3 separate regions of the Homo sapiens genome follow, and all the other regions are linked to region 1. Evidence: promoter capture Hi-C in 16 types of primary human blood cells and fetal thymus (Javierre and others, 2016). All regions are on one chromosome and are shown on one strand. Each heading gives the region's core, a stretch centred on a gene start or on the middle of the fragment in contact. The rest is flanking DNA. Distances are from core to core; before and after follow the strand shown. Region 1 holds the start of AKIRIN2 (akirin 2). Region 2 overlaps RNGTT (RNA guanylyltransferase and 5'-phosphatase). Region 3 overlaps RNGTT (RNA guanylyltransferase and 5'-phosphatase).

What was found. The method cuts DNA at HindIII sites, captures the fragments that hold promoters and counts their contacts. A CHiCAGO score of 5 or more calls a contact.
Region 2: a fragment that was not itself captured here is called in contact with the fragment with the promoter of AKIRIN2 in region 1 in 5 of 17 cell types (total B cells, total CD4 T cells, naive B cells and 2 more); the score reaches 6.3 in total B cells.
Region 3: a fragment that was not itself captured here is called in contact with the fragment with the promoter of AKIRIN2 in region 1 in 2 of 17 cell types (naive B cells and total B cells); the score reaches 7.7 in naive B cells.

What each region holds. Positions count from the first base shown.
Region 1 is chr6:87,700,284-87,704,666 of GRCh38, forward strand. AKIRIN2 (akirin 2) reads right to left here and starts at 1,950. Exons shown (of 5, transcript NM_018064.4): 1 at 1,167-1,950. The coding sequence starts at 1,401. RefSeq lists silencers at 1,122-1,331, 1,512-1,681 and enhancers at 1,842-1,901, 2,212-2,521. The HindIII fragment of the contact is 11,354 bases long and covers 1-4,383 here.
Region 2 is chr6:88,857,620-88,862,002 of GRCh38, forward strand. All of the region lies in intron 8 of RNGTT (RNA guanylyltransferase and 5'-phosphatase), which reads right to left. Among named protein-coding and RNA genes, the nearest start is that of RNGTT, 100 kb to the right of the region's middle. The HindIII fragment of the contact is 4,031 bases long and covers 299-4,329 here.
Region 3 is chr6:88,782,255-88,786,637 of GRCh38, forward strand. All of the region lies in intron 12 of RNGTT (RNA guanylyltransferase and 5'-phosphatase), which reads right to left. Among named protein-coding and RNA genes, the nearest start is that of RNGTT, 180 kb to the right of the region's middle. The HindIII fragment of the contact is 4,619 bases long and covers 1-4,372 here.

The sequences.
Region 1 (4,383 bases), core at 700-3,199:
TAAAGTCAGTTTCAAATGGAAGTCACCAAATACAGAGGTATATACTTCGGTTTTTTAAGCTACTGATAACGAGACATTTAAATCAAGCTATGGAAAGGCTTTGTCTAAAGGGTGATATTATTACTAAAGGCTCACACAGAAATCTTTGCATGCTACACACAAAGGAAACATTTACACTTCTAGTCCACAAAAGCCTATCCTAGGATTGTGCCAGGGGCACACAAGGATTTCAAAGTACAGAAAAAACTGGGCATACACATGCCCTACAAAGCAGCCAAAAGACATTCCCCAGTCTCTCTCAGGAAATGTTTCAAGATGAAAAGCAAAAGTCTGAAGTCCCTTGGAATCTTGGGTTGATTTCTTCATTATTCTCAAGGCTAGGTTGTTTTCCCCCAGCATACTTTGTTGGGCAAAAATAAAACATTTCCAAATAAAAGCAACTCCTCAGCCCCAATTTTCAATGCAATATGCTTATTAAAAGTTCAACATTTCTCAAGGTCTAGACTTATAGTGTGATCATATTACAGTACTCGGGAAGAGCATTTTCTTTGTTGTTGACCCTGCTAGGGAAACAGGTCTTGACTCAGCCAAAGTGGCGTTCTTGTGGGTGATTAATGACAGGCCTAGATCTCGCCCTAGTGACATCCATCCCCCACCCCCCACCCCCACTATACTAAAATCAGCCGTGTCTGAACTGAAGGAGGGGCTGTAGCCTCGCCTCAAACCACCCAGTCCCAGAGTTAATAGCTGCAACCAATCGATTACGGCAAGCACACATCCAGATTGGGGTGAAATGTGACCCTTTCGCCTAAATTTACGAATAATATCGTCCTCTCTGATCATTTCCGCTGGGGCTCCAGCGACTACGGAAACAATTCCAATCATTCGGCCCAAAGAAAAAGATGTCCCTGTTCTACCCAATACGGGCAAGGCAAAGCCCCTACCCACCTCCAAACACTATCCCCTTGACATCAGCCCATTTCTATTGTGTCTTATTAGGTCCTCGGGCTACGAGGACCTAGTGAAAAACGTGGCTGCCCTACTACTTTGCTAAGAACAAGAACCACACAGTCCGGCACCCCCACCCCAGGGGCCGCATCCCACACCCCAGGACCCCTGTTCCCAGTTCTCTCCACTACCCCGGCGGCCGCGGGGCCGGGTCCCACCTGTGGTGAGGCGGGAGGAGACGTCGCCGAAGGGGGATGGCTCCATTCGGAGATACTTCTGCGGCGAGGCGGCCGCAGCGGAGAAGGAGGCGGCGGTGGCCGCGGCCGCCGACAACGGGGAGGCAGCGGCCGAGGTGGGCGCCGACAATGGCGCACATCGCCTGCGCTTCGGGGACGCCGGGCTCAACAGCGGGTCGAAATCCAGAGTCCTTTTCAGAGTGGCTCCGCACGCCATGGCCGGGGGCAGCTGAGGCGCCGGGCTCGGGTGGGGTCGGGGACGGGTGACGAAAGAAGAGGGTGAGGGAAGGGGTGAAGAGCGGGAACTCGAGGAGAGCCTACCCGACGGGCTCAGGAGCCAAGCGGGTCGCGGAGCGCCGGCTGTGGAAAGGAGAGCCGCTGCCGCCGCTGCCTCCGCGGCAGGGGCAGTGGCCAGGGACGGCCCGGGTGAGAGCGGGAGGGGCGGTGGCGGGCAGAAGCACACGCCAGTCGCGTCAGGGGGGTTCTTCCGCCTCCTCAGGCGCGGCTCCCCCGAGAGAGGCTCCGGCCGCCCCCGCCGTCCGCTCGAGCTTTGCGCCGCGCCTGAGGCGCTTCTGTGCTGAGACTAGATCCTTTCTGAAGTCGAAAACAGCACCGTGGGGTGTGAGGCTGGAACGCGGCTCCTAATACGCCCGAGTACGGTCAGTAGCTTGCGAGCGGCGATCGATGCAGAGAGATTGCGAGGTAGCTGCCGCAGCAGGAACCCAAGCGAACACGTCCAACCGCTTCCCCTCCCTCGTAGAACTCTCCCACCCGCCGCCGGCCCCAATATGGCGTCAATAACAACGCCGCCGATTCAAATCCGGCGGCCTCAGAGCGCTTGCGCACGGGGGCGGGCCAAACCGGGGATGCATTTTGGGAGTTGTAGTTTTTAGGTACCGGGAGGAATCGGCTTGAAAGGCGGGAAGGGAGGAGTCACAGAAACTACGACTTCCGTCATGCAAGGCGCGCGATTCCGAGTTCCGGGTTGGAATTTAAATCCCCCTACACAGCTTGAGTGTAAGAGGAACTAAGCAAAAGAGAAAAAAAGAGAAGGTTCTGAGACAGTGGGAGATGGGAAAGCGAACCCGTGGCAAAAGCAGGCTAAGCGACATAGAAATCTTTTAAGATTCTCCGTATAGTTGCTCCCACAGTGATTTCAGATCTGGGAAATATAATAAACCAATCTCTAGTCAAAGTTAGCTTAATTTCGGTAGCGACAGTACCCAAAACAAGACCTTTCACATGGAGAGGATAGGAGATAATGAGATTATGAAACCTATTTAGGACTGGCAGACAGAACAACAGTAATAGTATCAGGTTACAGGATCCTTGATTCAACTCGATGCTCTACCCTTCGGAGGTAGCTGCTTCATCCACTAATGAAATTCTGTAAAGCCAGCTTTGCTTCTGTAAATGAATAGGACTTGAACGACTTACAGAATCAAATTGTTTTGCGTTGGGTAAAAAGCAAGTGGTATCAGACATTGCATTACTTCTGTTGAATATTGGTGCATATATTGTGAACTTTGTTACAAAACTAATCAAAAGACAGTGAAATGTTTAGGTAATAGATATTGGATGGATCCATTTTGTAAGCGGAAGGGGAAAAAAGTGTTTCTAGAAGTTGTACTTTTAGTCACATACCTAAAATAAGAATCAAATACAGCGCTAATTTAGAAAGTGATCTGTGTAGCCGGGCATGGTGACTCACGCCTGTTATCCCAGCACTTTGGGAGGCCGAGGCAGGCGGATCTTCCTGAGGTCAGGAGTTCGAGACCAGCCTGGTCAAAATGGTGAAACCCCGTCTCTACTAAAAATACAAAATTAGCCGAGCGTGGTGGCGCGCGCCTGTAGTCGCAGCTACTCGGGAGGCTAAGACAGGAGAATCATTTGAACCCGGGAGGCGAAGGTTGCAGTGAGCCGAGATGTTGCCACTGCACTCCAGCCTGGGTGATAGAGCGAGTCTCTGTCTGAAAAAAATGAAAAGAAAAGAAAATGATGCCGGGCGCGGTGGCTAACGCCTGTAATCCCAGCACTGGGAGGCCGAGGCAGGCGGATCACGAGGTCAGGAGTTCGAGACCAGCCTGTTCAACATGGTGATACCCTGTCTCTACTAAAAATAAAAAAAATTAGCCGGGCGTGGTGGCGCACACCTATAGTCCCAGCTACTCAGGAGGCTGAGGCAGAAGAATCGCTTGAACCCGGGAGGCGGAGGTTGCAGTGAGCCAAGATCAAGCTACTGCACTCCAGCCTGGGTGACAGAGCTAGACTTCGTCTCAAAAAAAAAAAAAAAAAAAAAAAGTGATATATGTAGAAACTATCACCAGTGCAATATGAAACAATTTTGTGAATGCCAACTGTCAAATGATTATAAATACTGATTTCCAGTGCTCATGTATTCTTCTTTATTCAGTAACAGATGTTTTATAGCCATTTTGTCTATTATTTTTAAACCATATTTAGAAGTAGTTCAATATATTCTTTTTTATAGACAATTTTATAGAATTGTCCAGTGCTTCAGAGATCAGCAGTCCTGATCACACTGTGTCAACAAGTAAGCCCTTCTAGTTTTAATTTAGGATATTTGGAAATATCCTACATTTCCTACATTTGGAAAATCTTTTGAAAAAGATAAGCATTTAATGAAACAGCAGCTTAACTAAGACACCTACTAGGTAAATTTCTAGTAAATTCTAAACACTTGGTAATATTTTCTGAAATTAAGATTTGCCCATAAGTTATAAAACCTACATTTGAAATGTGATGTTGTGAGTTAAATTCCCTATGTTTGAGGGAATTCAAGGACTTCAAAATTCATATGAAGTCCTAACCTCCAGTACCTTAGAATATGACTTTACTTAGGAATAGGATTATTTCAAATGTAATTAGCTAAATGTAGTAGGATGGGCCCCTAATCCAATATGACTGGTATTCTTATACAAAAAAGGAAATTTGGGCCAGGTGCGGTGGCTCACACCTGTAATCCCAGCACTTTGGAAGGCCGAGGTGGGAGGATCACTTGAGGCCAGGAGTTTGAGGCTAGCCTGGGCAATGATAAGAAACCTCATCTCTACAAAAATTTTTAAAAAATTAACTAGGCATGGTGGTGGTCACCTGTGGTCCCAGCTACTCGGGGCAGCTGAGGTGAGAGGATTGCATGAGCCCAGAAGGTTGAGGCTGCAGTAAGCTGTAATCACAC
Region 2 (4,383 bases), core at 1,064-3,563, 1.2 Mb after region 1:
TTTTTTAAACAATGATAAAAATATTCATTAATATGGAAAGAGATTTACAATATATTTAGTGGGAAAAAAGCAAGTTTAAAACCAGAATACATTAAATAATTACAGAGGAAAGGAGGAGGACAAAACTGTATGTATATCGTAAATATAGAGTAAAGCCTATACCAAAATAGTAAGAGCTGCCCCATCTCTATGTATTAGAATTATCAATGATATTTGCTTTCCTCATTAAGCTTTTCTGTACTTTCAAAATTTTTAGAAATAAACACAAATTGCTTTTAGACACAGGGGGCAAAATTAAAGCTTTACAAGGGGGAAAAAAGCCACCAAGCCAGAAATGTAGTCTATAATCAGACCCAGAGAAACATTTTCCCTTTGCAAAGTGGCAATGAATTAAGACAGGATTCTAACCCTTGTTCTTTGTACCACAGTGGCTTCAAAACAACAGATATTCCTCTTCTTCTGTCATACAGCCTCCATACTAGAGCATTTTGATGGGCAATAAAAACAGAAAAGCTGATCATTTACATTGATTTATTTCACCACCATCTCTATCTCTATCCATTTTTCCTAGCCCCTATCAAACTTATTATGGCTTTTCTCTTAAATTTTTTAATCAATTATTTTTTAAAATATAAGTTAAAGGGCCGACCTGGAGCCAGTCTAGATGCTAGGCAGTACTAGATGCTAGGGTTATAACAGCAAATGGCACAGACTCTCTTCTCAACTTCACATCATTTACACTCTTAAAAAGAAAACAAGATATTAAATAATTCCAACCATAATACATATTAGAACAGTGAAGAAGAAGCTATTACAGGAGCCTACAAAGGTAGAGCCTGTCAGAGTTTGGAGATCATGGAAGGCATTCCAGAGGAATTCATGCATAGCTGATAATAACAACAGGTTACACTTACTGAGCAATTACTATGTTCTGAAGAAAAGAGCACTTTTATTAACTCATTTATTAACTCATTTAATCCTTACAACAACCTCACCAGGTCAGTAAAATTATTATCCCCATTTTCCAGATGAGGAAACTGAGACATTGCCCAATGTCATAACGCTGACACAACGGCAACGCTGATATTAAAATTTAGACAATAGTTTGTTTGTACACCCTCTACAGTATACTAACCCTCACATTCAATATGTAGGAGTCAACCCAGCACAGGTTGTAATGTGAGAGAAGAAGAGAAATGAGGGATGGGAGGGTTGGAGTACACAGACTAGTAGGTGCAATGTCCTTCAGACAAGATAGAATGCAGCAATGTTCTGGTAACTAAAAAAGGTTCAGAATACTCAAGTGTAAAGAGAAAGCAGGAAAATGGTATGAAATGAGACTAAAGAAGTAACAGACAAATAGGAATTATGAAAACTTTTTTTTTTTTCTGAGACAGGATCTCACTCTGTCACCCAGGCTGGAGTGCAGTGGTGTGAACATAGCTCACTGCAGCCTCAAACTCCTGGGCTCAAGCAATCCTCCCACCTCAGCCTCCAAAAGTGCTGGGATTACCGGCATAAGTCACCGTACTCAGTCTGAAAATCTGTTTAATCCCCCCACCCCCAGCTACTAGTTATTTTAACTTTTTTTTTTAACTTTATCTTAGAAAACAAAAAACTACTTGTATGAGACAAACAGAAACCATAATGCAGAATTCAAACCCAGGAGATATATATAATACAGCACATTGGTTACAAAGATACTGGAAAGCTGAGAACATAGAACAGGAAGGCTGAAATAACTCAGAGATTAATAGTTGCAGGAAGCACTATGACCCGCAGGACTAGGGGAACAAAATGAAAGAGGTCTGTTATTGAAAAGCTAGGAGCTTGGAAGAAAAGCATTATAGGGCTATGCCTGGAAGAAGGTGAAAGAGGTCCATGTGGCAGAATGCTCTAACCTCTAAGGAGGTGGCCACAAATGGCCCTGTAGCTTAAGTTTGAATCCCTATGAACAGGTGTCCAATAGAGGATGGTCAAACCACTAAGGGAATAAAGTCCAGCAGGTTAGGAAGTGATACAAGTGGCACTCTATCTACCTAGGATGCCTTGCCCAGAAGCTGGTATCTCTGAGAGGAAACAGCAAGACTGGTGCAGAGAGTGACAAAAGAAGTTGGAGAATGGAGTAATAGTTGTCCTTTGCTATTGGAGGTGTCCTTACAGAAACTGGGAATAAGAGTAGTCCCTTCTCTCACCTTCCAAATTCCTGCCTGTGCTCCCAGTGGTAAAACTTAACACGAAGTAAGCTGGCAAGGGAGTCTGGGAAATGTAGGTTGCAAAGTCCCAGCCCCTAACACAGAATAAAAGGGTGGACTCGAACTGAGAGATGGGAGGTAAATAAATGCAGACCACTAAAATGTTTTAAGCAAACTAATGACATAATCTCACCTGCATTTTTAAAAGTTCATCACCACATAATGTATACCCCAACAGAATAGGGGTCAATCTGTAGACAAGAGAAATTATAAGGCCTCTGTAATAGACCATGTGAGAAATCACAGTGACTACGACAGTAGTAACAATAATTTTAGAGATAAATAGATAAACTCAAGATATTCAAGTTGCAGACTGACAGTAATTCAATATGCTATTTACTGGATATGTGACTGAGAAAATGAGAGAAGTTCCAAGTTCTGGCTTCAGGAACTGGGCATATTTACTGAGCCATGGGGCATTTAAGAAGGAAGCAGTAATTGTCCCATTTTGTTTGGAAGAAACGATGGACACCATGAGTTTAGATGGAAACCAAAGGCCCAGATTTTCCCTACCCCTAGCAGGCTGGAAATAGGCTCAGGATCTAGACCAGACTATCCATGTTCCTTTCCCAAAACTTTTAACTTGAGTGACAGAGAGGCACAAGAATAGTTGCAGAATTATTTATAGCAACAGCAAAGACATTGTCAGCAAGTGCTAATGGTGGCTTCCTAATCAAAGTGTTCCTGTGCCCTGACCTTGGCTCTGGTCCTTGCTGCTGGCTTCCCTTGATTCCTATCCATTTTCCAAAAGTGGTTCTCCTTATTTATTCCGTTGCATAAATTAGCCAAAGTTGATTTCTATTGCTTACAGTCAAGAAGGCTAAGCATAGTGATACACGTCTGTAATCCTAGCACTCTGGGAGGCCAAAGCGGAGAATCACTTGAGGCCAGGAGTTCAAGACTAGCCTGGCCAAGATAGTGAGACCACATCTCTATTTTTTTTTTAACTTAAAAAAAAAAAAAACATGTTAATGGGTTTTTTGTTGTTGTTGTTTTTGCCTCAATATATACAGCTAAATGTAAGGAGGTTTAATGTGCCTATGATGAAATCCCACTGTAATGTCCCTAACATATCCTTAATACCAAGGGTTACATAATACTAGCCCTTTACCTGGTAACTTCATGCCAAGAGACACACCATCTATTTACCATCCTTCAACATAGACAAGTGTATAATGCTAATTCTAGAGTTTACTTTCTCTGTACATCTTTTCTCTCATAAGAATTCACTACCAAACCTCTGCTATTTCTATACAAGCTACCTTTCTTCTCATTTTTATTCCCAATAGAATTGGCACAGAAGTCCCTGAAAGCTAATTCTCAATGTTGTATTAGTATACAGAAATAAATTCAAGTATACTAAAATTTCTTATAAAGAAAATTCAGACCACTTTCCCAGACAGAATATATAAACCTTCCTCACATAGGAGCAGTTGGTCACACCATGCCCCCTACTCACCAACACCTGTCATGTGTTCAAAAAACAATACAAGAACAGCTGACTTGCCAAACTCCAACTTTCTTCCTTCCCCATGGGGCTCATGCACACTTTGCCTGTTTCTCTCATTACCTCACTGCTCAGTAAATTCTGCCTCTGATAACCTCTTTTGCAAGATATACCCATGTCTTCTTTAACCCATTTTTTCCTGTTTCTTTCAACTCTTTTTTTTAAATAAGAAATCTTAAGTATATTTTACAACTTTTTAAAAAGAAAAAACGTATTTCTCCTTCTCACCTCCTTTAACTTAGTTCCATTCATGAACCAACGAAAACTCTGATCAAAGCTAGTGACACTTCTGTATAAAGCAAAATTTAAAGTAATAAGTTGTTTAATCCATCTAGACAATAAAGAATCAGTGTCAAAACCCCTTTCACAACCTCCTTATATAATAGTCTCTATCTCCTTATCTTATAAAATCCAGTTTTCCCCAAAGTTTTTAAATTATTCAAAATAGTTTTCATAAACTTCTTATGTTACAATGGCAGTTTGCTTAATTACCAGTGTTGAAACAGTACATTTTGTCATTTTTCATAGTATATATACATAATAAGTAATTTAGCTACCTTAGGAATAAGCTTTAGAGGCTAGTTTAGGCACCTAATTATGATTTATACTATAATTCCATAG
Region 3 (4,383 bases), core at 813-3,312, 1.1 Mb after region 1:
GGATCACAAAACAGAGTCATAAAGAAATTGGTAGAAAAGATATTTGAACCCAAGTATTTTATTCCAGATTCCAAAATATATACTAACTACCACATTGTACGGGGTGAATGGAAAGACAAAAAGGTGCACACCATACACAAAAATCAACTCAAATGGATTAAACATTTAAACACAAAAGTGGAAACTGTAAAACTCCTAGAAGTAAACAAAGAAAAACTTCTTGACACTGGTCTTGGCAACTATTTTCTGGATATAACACCAAAAGCACAGGCAACAGAAGCAAAAATAGACAAGTGGGACTATATCAAACTAAAAACCTTCTGCACAGCAAAAGAAACAATGAACAAAGTGAAAGGTCACCTATGAAATGAGAAAAAATAATCTTCAAACTATACATCCACAGGGGTTAATATCCAATATATAAAATCATACAACTCAATATTAAAAATACAAATAACCTGTTAAAAATGGGTAAGGGCCCTGAATAGACACTTCTCAAAATAAGAAACGTAGATGGCCAACAGACCTATTGAAAAGCTGCTCAGCATTTCTAATCAGCAGGGAAATGCAAATCAAAACCTCAATAAGACAGCACTTCACATTTACGAGGATGCCTATTATCAAAAAGGCAAGAAATAACAAGTGTTGTCAAGGATATGGAGAAAAGTGAACCCTTGTATACTTCGGTGAGAATGTAAATTGGTACAGCCCATTAGTGAAAACAGTATTGAGGTTCCTCAAAAAATTAAAGACAGAACCACCCTATGATTCAGCAATCCCACCTCTGAGTATGTATCTGGAAGTATTGAAAACAGGATCATGAAGAGATATCTGCTCTCTCCCATTCACTGCAGCTTTATGCACAATAGCGAAGATATGGAAGCAACTTAAATGCCCTGCGATGGATGAATGGTTAAAGAAAACGTGGTGTACATATAACAGAATATTATTCAGCCTTACCCCCAGAAAAGTAATTTATGCCATTTGTGGTAACGTGGATGGAGCTGGAGAGCACTGTACTAAGCAAAAATAAGCCAGAAAGAGAAATACTGCATGATCTCACTTATACATGGAATCTCAATTAGTCAAACTCATAGAAGCAGAGATTAGGATGGTGGCTGCCTGGAAACGGAAGGAACTAGAAATGGGATGATGCTGGTCAAAGGGTACAAAAATGGCAGGTAGACAGAGATATCAGATGTTAATTAGCTGGAATGTAGTGATTATTTCACAATGTATATCAAAACATCAAGCTGTATGCCCTAAATACATACAATTTCTATACGTCAAAAAAGTTAAATTGTCACAAAATATAGAATTTAAAGAAAAAAGACAAAATGGTTAAGATATCTGTTCAAGTATATTCAAAAGCCCTATACATTTATAAATCTATAAATCTAAGACAATATGGAGAAAGCAAAGAAATCCACAGTCTAAAGCAGGGTTCTTTAACAGCAATACTACTGACATTGGGGCAGTTGACTCTTTGTTGTGGGGGCTGTTCCGTGCAATGTAGGAGGTTTAACAGCATCCCTGGCCTCTATGGGCCAATCAAAATAATAAAAAATGTCCCCACATACTGTCAAATGTTATTTGGGAAGTAAAATCATGCCAGTTGAGAATCACTGATCTAAAGTATGCATTCATTCTTTTTTTTTAAACCAGTACCTATTGATCAACTGCTAAGCCTGTGTCAACCTCTGTGCTAGAGGACAGTAAGATAAAGATAATGGGGGTTTCAGACAAATAATAAGCAGTTACAAAAAACTGTGAAGAATTTAATGAAAGATGAAGTTCAGAGTGCTATAATAGCTGAGAAAATGAAATGTAACACAGTCAAAAAGATAAAAACAAATTTCCCAGGGGAAGTAAAATTTAAGCTGAGAATTATACAGGCAATAAGGATGAGTTAAGTAGCTACAAGAGAAAGTACAGTGAATCTGAGCAGCAGACATTCAGATTGCCCACACGTACAGCACAGTACTTAATATTCACCCTACTGCTACAAGCACTAAAAATATCACTGTGAATGAGACAGAGATGGTCTCTGTCTTCATGGTACTTACAATCTAGTAAGAGAAATGGTAATGTTTAAATAACTAAAAATTAATACACGTTAAGTGCTTTGAGGCCAATGGGAATACTGTGGAGGCACAGGGGAGAGTCATGCTCACCTATACAACCAGGCTTCCTCAAGGAAGCACATCTAACTTGATAGTTGAAGGATAAATGGGAGTAATATAGAAAAGAAAATAGTTTCAGGCAGAAGAAATAGCATGTATAAATACATATTCTTTAGAGACTATTTCAGTTTGTAGCTCTTACAGAATGAATTGGTCTGTCAGTAGAAAGAGCTACTAAAGTTATCACTGAACTTGGACAACAAAAGGAAAATCAATTTTCTGACCCTACATAGACAAAATGTGTGCTTTTAAATATTTCCTTCTAAAATGTGGAATTGCTATAAGCATAAGGGATAAGAAATATCAATTAATAAACCCTATCTTTTTGCTATGATTCCAATATGTCTCCCTAGATGCCTAAATCAGAGCGCTAACAAAATAGACATTAAAAATATACCCGGACAAATTCTGAAAAGCAAAGTGTAAAATAATATGCTATCTTTTTAAAAAAGTGGAATGAAAATAAGAATGTATTCACACATTTGTATTTGCTTCTATATATATAAAGAAACTGGGAAGAAGTATGAGAGGGAAATTTTCTTCTATGTATTTTTTAAATACATGTTAAAATTTCTGAACCACGTGATTGTATTATCTGGTTTAAAAATTAAAATTATACCACTGTAAAATGACAATTTTAAAAATCTACCATTAATGTTTCAACATTAAACATAAGTTATTAATAAAAAGAACTATCCCTAATTCATTAAGTGTTTAATATGTATCATTTATATGAGAACTGATTTGGTATTCTGTATATTTACCCTCTAGGAATTCACCGCTTCTTTCATTTTTGTGAAGTCCTTATTTATATTTATTTCCCCTTTCTCTGCTACCAATATATCATCATTAGCAATTCCTTTTAGTTGTACAGATATATCTATATCTAGCTGAGACTGATTACAAATTATGCATCTGTAGCTGTTTATTTTGCCAACAAAATTCAAAAAAAAGTAAATATTTATTTTAAAAACTTGAAAATGATGTTTTGCTTTTTCTTCCTTACACAAAGCAAGCTAAGAATATTTTGCTGTGCTCTAAAAGATGAACAAGGAAAAAAAAATAAAATAAGGTATATTTTCTTTCTTGGCACTTTGCTATTACAATTCCTTGGAAAATTATATTTTTCAATAAAAGTAACACATTTTGAGAAAAGATAGAATGACACTTTTGCAGCCTGCCAGAAAACAGAGCCCTTCTTCAAATGAAGACCTATCAAAATATGCAAGCAAATGTCATGGAAACAGAAGCTCTCACCATGGTAACATCCTTGCTACAGAGGAAAACCATTCTAATTTGTCATGTACTTCAAGACAAGGCATTAGGCTAATTCCAATTTTCATTTTACAATCTATCCATAACATTCAATATACCTGGCAGTAGTAAAGATTTAATAAAAATATTAATATTTCAAAAGAATGCAATATTAAAATCAAAGCTGACTCTAAATTTCTATGCAAACTGATGAATACCAGATACATAAAATCAAGCTGAACCACCTTATAGGAAAATCAAAATAGTGATGAAAACATTAAAAAACAATTATATCTCTACTACTTGAAAGTAAATAACTCTAGACTCAATAGAAACAATTATGTTTTACTAACCATAGTAGAGTTAGTGGGTACAACAAGAAAAGCCATTTTTCTAAATATAAAACAAAAATATTTTCAAGATTTTTATTCTTACTTCAATTATACAATCCACTATTCTGTTTTTATTTCATAGTGATAGATTAATGGCATACAATTCTTGTCTAGAAACATAGTTTCTCCAGATGATAAAAGTAAAATCAAAGCTGATTTTTCAAAAGGTTAAAAATTAATGTTATTTCCACATGTAAAACTGTAATATGCTACATAAATCTACACTAAAATCAACTTATAAAAGCTAGTAAACAAATAAGATTTCATTTTACTACCAACTTTGTAAATTAAACAATCTAATAGCTATCATGTAAAAGATTGAATACCTGCATATTAAAATACCAAATCATCACGTTAAAATATTCATTTTTAAGTGACGAATGGCCAAAAATTAGCAATTCAAAATGGAAGTGTAATCACAGAACTGAAAACCATATAGATAGGAGTCTAATAAAACATAGTTTATTACAGAAGCTGATAATGAGATGGAAAATTCAATTTGATAGTGGTTCTTTTTAAAAATGATCATTTCTGTTTGAGGAAAGCTTGAACCT